2 separate regions of the Homo sapiens genome follow, and region 2 is linked to region 1. The links are contacts of gene promoters, found by promoter capture Hi-C in human tissues and cell types (Jung and others, 2019). All regions are on one chromosome and are shown on one strand. The core of a region is centred on a gene start or on the middle of the fragment in contact, and the rest is flanking DNA. Distances in the headings are between cores, read along the strand shown. Region 1 holds the start of NDUFS5 (NADH:ubiquinone oxidoreductase subunit S5). Region 2 has its middle 32 kb from the start of PABPC4-AS1.

What was found. Contacts are between HindIII fragments. The study calls those that stand out against the background at their distance.
Region 2: a fragment that was not itself captured here is called in contact with the fragment with the promoter of NDUFS5 in region 1 in 1 of the 25 tissues and cell types used here (aorta).

Annotation. Positions count from the first base shown.
Region 1 is chr1:39,024,951-39,027,892 of GRCh38, forward strand. It overlaps NDUFS5 (NADH:ubiquinone oxidoreductase subunit S5), which reads left to right and starts at 1,400. Exons shown (of 3, transcript NM_004552.3): 1 at 1,400-1,452. RefSeq lists enhancers at 1,232-1,481, 1,341-1,927, 1,928-2,513. The HindIII fragment of the contact is 8,915 bases long and covers 1-2,942 here.
Region 2 is chr1:39,531,467-39,534,557 of GRCh38, forward strand. It overlaps the pseudogene PPIEL. Among named protein-coding and RNA genes, the nearest start is that of PABPC4-AS1, 32 kb to the right of the region's middle. The HindIII fragment of the contact is 7,857 bases long and covers 1-3,091 here.

The DNA.
Region 1 (2,942 bases), core at 150-2,649:
TATATATATATATGTTCTAGTATTTTCCTCCCATACCTCCAATGTATAATATCTCATGCACCCTGTGGTCCACCCCCCAAAGACATACACACAACACTTTAGAGTCTCTGATGTAGTCAAAGGGAGTCATTGGAGGTTCTGGAACAGATGACAGGCATGGTAGCAGTTGATTCACAAACTGAAAGCTGAGACATCAAAGAACTGCGACTGCCTTGGAATGTTTCCCATGTGCTAGCCACCGCCTCAGTGCTTTATACATAAATCAGTTAATCCCTATAGCAAGCCTCCATTGTGAATACCATAATTATCTTAACAGACGAGGAGACTGAGGCACAATGAAGTTAAGAAACTTTCCTAGAGTCACACGAAATTGGTGGGGGCCTACTTTTTTTTTTTTTTTTTTTTTTTTTTTTTTTTTTTTTTGAGACTGAATCTAGCTCTGTCGCCAGGCTGGAGTCCAGTGGCGCGATCTCACCTCACTGCAACCTCCGCCTCCCGGATTCAAGCGATTCTCCTGCCTCGGCCTCCCCCCACTAGCTGGGATTACAGGCACTCGCTGCCACACCCAGCTAATTTTTGTATTTTTAGTAGAGACAGGGTTTCACCATATTGGCCAGGATGGTCTCGATCTCCTGAGCTTGTGATCCGCCCACCTCGGCCTCCCATAGTGCTGGGATTACAGGCCTGAGCCACTGCGCCCGGCTGGGGGCCTACATTTGACCCCACGTGGTGGTTTGGGCTCATAGTCCATGTGCTTAACCACTAGTGGGTAGGCAGGGAGCCAGTGTTCTTTCTCTCCTGTGACTTTGGTGAAGTCTCTCACCACTCAGTGTTGTCGTGAGCATGCTAGGCAGAGTGCAAGAAAGGAGCAAGAACTCACTAATGGCTAGGCCTTCCCTGTGTCTCTGTAATTGATGGGTTTGGGTTTTTTTTCCTTTCTCTCTCTCTACCTCCTCTCTCTCTTCTTCATCCTCTCTCTCTCACTCTCCCCCTGAGATAAGGTCTTGCTCTGTTGCCAGGGCTGGAATGCAATGGAATGGTGTGATCATGGCTCACTACAGCCTCAATCTCCTGGGCTCAAGGGATCCTCCCACCTCAACCTCCTGAGTAGCTGGAACCACAGGCATGCACCACCTCGCCCGGCTAATTTTTTATTTTTTGTAGAGAGGGGAGTTTCGCCATGTTGCCCAGGCTGTTTTCGAACTCCTGGGCTGAAGTGATCTTCCTCCCTCAGCCTTCCAAGGTGCTGGGATTGCAGACGTCAGCCACCGTACCAGGCCAACGGGCTCGGTTTCTATGGTTTTGTGGGGAGACGGCTGAGGGAAGGTCGGCTTCCGGCGTCGCGCTGCAAACGTCTCGCTGAGGTCATCCTTTACGGCAGGCGTCCGCGTCGCTAGCTAGTCGTTCTGAAGCGGCGGCCAGAGAAGAGTCAAGGGCACGAGCATCGGGTAGGTAGGGGCTGCTTATGTCCGCGCGGCAGCTTAGCTTAAGGACCTTCCTTCCGAGGTCTCTTTAACAGATTTCCTCTTGGCTTGCTGTGTGTCCCCTTCTCCCAGACCTGAACTCAGGGCGTGTTCCCTGCCCTCCCAGGCCGCTTCACCTCCACAGCTAATGGCACCGAAGCCTGGAGATTGCCGCTCTCTCCACTTTCCACATTTGTTTAGGTTTTTGCCGGACTAATGTTTTGGCTTTCTGTTTCTTAACCTAAAGTCTACGATCCTTATCCCAGCTTTCCAGGCTCTGCGTGATTTCGGCCCCGCCGGCCTCCTGAGCTCATTTCATTCTTTTCACCGTCATGCACGCTGCGCTCCATTGTCCCCCAAACATAGCCAGCACTTCCGGCTGTAACTCCGGGCTGTTGCCCAACTGGAACACTCTGCCCACTGATCTTCACTTGGCGAACTCGCAAGCCATGTTAAAGGCATTTTCAAGTCTCCGGGCAGAGTTCGTGCTTCCTCCTTCGAGCTCTTACCCACTCGTGTTCCTTGCAGTGTATTCGCAATTCCGAGTGTGTGTCTCTGGTGCTTACGTTGGAGCTGCTTTCCCCCGCATCTGAGTGCCTGGAACGTAACTACTCAGTAAATGATGACTGAGGGATGGGAAGGAACTTAAGAAGTTAAATTCACCTTTTTGTTGAGATGGAGTTTCGCTCTTGTTGCCCAGGCTGGAGTGCAGAGTGGCGCGATCTCGGCTCACTGCAGCCTCTGCCTCCCGGATTCAAGCGATTCTCCTCCCTGAGACTCCCGAGTAGCTGGGATTACAGGCATGCGCCCCCACGCCCGGCTAATTTTGTATTTTTTTAGTAGAGAGAGGGTTTCGCCATGTTGGTCAGGCTGGTCTTGAACTCGCGGCCTCAGGTGATCCGCCCGCCTCGGCCTCCCAAGGTGCTGGAATTACAGGCGTGAGCCACTGCGCCCAACTAAATTCACCTTTAAATCTACCATGAGTACACATTTATATTGATATTTGTGGGTGTGCGCGCGCTTCCTTTCAGTCATTTTAGGCAGTCAGGGTTTGTTTTTGTGTGTGTGTTTTTACATTTAACATTATTATGTATTTGCATGTAAATTTTTTTCCCTACTGTCTGTAATAGTCTACAAAGTAAGTCTTAACCCATTTCTTTCGCTCTGGTTTTTTTTTTTTTTTGAGACAGGATCTCGCTTTGTTGCCCAGGATGGAGTGCAGTGGCCAGGTCATAGCTCACTGAAGCCTTGAACTCCTGGCCTCAGTCTCCTGCCTCAGCCTTAGGAGTAGCTGGGACTACAGGCGCACATACCACCACAAGTGCCTTTTTTTTTTTTTTTTTTTTTTTTTGAGACAGAGAACCTGACCAAAGGATCCAAATTCTTTTTTTCTTCTTCTTCTTTTTTTTTTTTTTTTTTTTTTGAGACAGAGTCTCGCTCTGTCGCCCAGGCTGGAGTACAATGGCGGATCTTGGCTTA
Region 2 (3,091 bases), core at 67-2,566, 510 kb after region 1:
ACCTCTGAAAACACCTGGGACCTGGCTGGCAGGCAGCAGTATAAGAACTAGAATTTATTTTAGCAAACCAAAGAGAACAAAACATCCAGGAGCCACATTGGTGGGCCCACAGCAGACCCAGCAGCAAATGCCGAGAAAAGTGGTGGTTGGAGAAGGAGCACCTGTGCTGGTTCGTGGGCCCACAGCTGCACTTGGGAACAGTCCAGGCTGTGCCTACAGAGGTGCTCCAAGCTGACCCTAAGGTGGGCCTCATGCCACAAATCCTGCTTGCTTCAAATAGGGCACCCTCGGTGCTGCCTCCTCTGAGGCTGGCAGCTCCTTCCTGGATGTGCAGGGGCAAGAGCAGAGTGGAGAGCAGAGAGAGTGCCGCCTCACACATACTCCCCACAGTTGCCAATGATCACCTTCTGCCTTGGCTTCCCATCCTTGCCTTTGCAGACAGAATAGAAGAGGGGACACTCAGGGGAGTGAAGGAGCAGAATAAAGACAGACTTTAGGGACATCCACCCCTACCTGCCCCCTGGGGACACTGGCCCTAACAGTGGTGGAGCTCACAATCTAGTGAAATACAGCCACCCAAAAAAGATGTGGATTCATCTCAGGAATGCAAAGTTGGTTTAACATCTAAAAATCAATCAATGTAATAGACAATTATCAATAGTATAAAGAACAAAAACCACATAATCATCTCAGATACAGAAAAAGCAGTAGACAAAATCCAACACCTTTTCATAATGAAAACTCAATAAACTAGGAGTGGAAGGGGGAACTTTCTCAATCTGATAAAAGGTATCAACAGAAAACTACATGTGAAAGACAAGATGCTTTCCCCCTAAGGTCAGGAACAAGACGAGGATATCTGCCCTTGACACTTCTATTCAACATTGTACTGAAGGTTCTAGCCAGGGTAATTAGGTGAAAAAAATGAAATGAAAGGCATCCAATCGGCAAGGAAAATGTAAAGCTATTTCTATTTGCAGATGACACACTCTTGCATATAGAAAATCCTAAAAAATCCACAAAAAAAACTATTAGAACTAATAAACAGGCCGGGCATGGTGGCTCACGCCTGTAACCCCAGCACTTTGGGAGGCCAAGGTGCGCGGATCACAAGGTCAGGAAATTGAGACCATCCTGGCTAACACGGTGAAACCCCATCTCTACTAAAAATACAAAAAATTAGCCAGGCGTGGTGGCGGGCGCCTGTAGTCCCAGCTACTCAGGAGGCTGAGGCAGGAAAATGGCGTGAACCTGGGAGGTGGAGGTTGCAGTGAGCTGAGATCGTGCCACCGCACTCCAGCCTGGGCGACAGAGTGAGACTCCATCTCAAAAAAAGAAAAAAAAAAGAACTATTAAACAAGTTTAGCAATGTTGCAGAATACAAAATCAATATACAATTGATTATATATATTTTTGTAGAGATGAGGTCTCATTATGTTGACTCGGGCTGGTCTCAGACTCCTGGACTCAAGTGATTTTCCCACTTCAGTCTCCCAACGTGCTGGGATTATGAGTGTGAACCACCATGCCTGGCCTGTTTTGTGGTTTTCAAAGTATAAGCTGTATACATCTTTTAAACTTATTCCTAAATATTTTATTCTTTTTTATGCTATTGTAAGTATAATTGTTTTTCTTTTTATTCTGTTTTCAGGTTGTTCATTGCTGATGTATAGAAATATAATTGCTATATCTACGGCCAGGCACGGTGGCTCACACCCGTAATCCCAACACTTTGGGAGGCCGAGGCGGGCAGATCACAAGGTCAGGAGATCGAGACCATCCTGGCTAACATGGTGAAACCCTATCTCTACTAAAAATACAAAAAATTAGCTCGGCGTGGTGGCGGGCGCCTGTAGTCCCAGCTACTCAGGAGGCTGAGGCAGGAGAATGGCGTGGACCCGGGAGGTGGAGCTTGCAGTGAGCTGAGATGCTGCCACTGCACTCCAGCCTGGGCGACATAGCAAGACTCTGTCTCAAAAATAAGAAAAGAAATATAATTGCTATATATATATGTGTGTGTATTTTTTTTAGAAGAGTCTTGCTCTGTTGTCCAGGCTGGAGTGCAATGGTGCAGTCACAGCTGTCTACAAAAATATTTTTTAAAATTAGCCAGGTGTGGTGGTGTGTGCCTATAGTTCCAACTAGTTGTAAAGCTGAAACATAAGGACCACTTGGGTACAGGAGTTCCAAGACTGTGGTGAGCTGTGATTGCACCACTGCACTCCAGCCTGGGCAATACAGTGAGACCCTGTCTAAAAAAAAAAAAAAAAGAATGAGAGAAACTATTTGCAAATTATACATCTGATAAGAGACCTGTATCTAAAATATTTAAAGAATTCTGACTCGCTAGGCATGGTGGCTTACATCTATAATCCCAGCATTTTGGGAGGACAAGGTGGCAGGATTGCTTGAGCCCTGGAGTTCGAGACCAGCCTAGATAACATAGCAAGACCCCATCCCAATTAAAAAAAAAAAAAAAAGAAAACCAAAGAACATTACTGAAAAACACTGAAGAAGACCTAAACAAATGAAAAGATATCCTGTGTTCATGGATCAGAAGACTTAATATTGTTAAGATGATGATACTCCTAAATTCTTCACATTCAGTGCAATCTGTATTAAAATCCTAGCTGGCTTTTTTCATACGAGTTGATAAGCTTATCCCAAAATTCTTAAGAAATGTAAGAGACTCAGGATAACCAAAACAATCTTGAAAGGAAAAACAAAGTTGGAGGACTCGCATTTCCAGAATTAAAAATTTACTACAAAGCTATGGAATTTAAGACACAGTAGTAATGGCCTAATAACAGACATACAGATCAACAAAATATAATTTAGAATCCAGAAGAAACCCTTACATTTATGGTCAACTATATTCACCAAGGATACCAAGACAATTAAACAGGAAAAAAACTAGCCTTTTCAACAAATGGTGCTAGGACGACTGAAAATCCACATGTAAAAGAGTAACGCTGGACCACTTTCCTCACACTATACACAAAAATTAACTTCAAATGGAGTAAAGACTTCAGTGTAAGAGAGAAAACCATAAAATACTTAATAGAAAGTGTAGGAGTAAATCTTCATAATC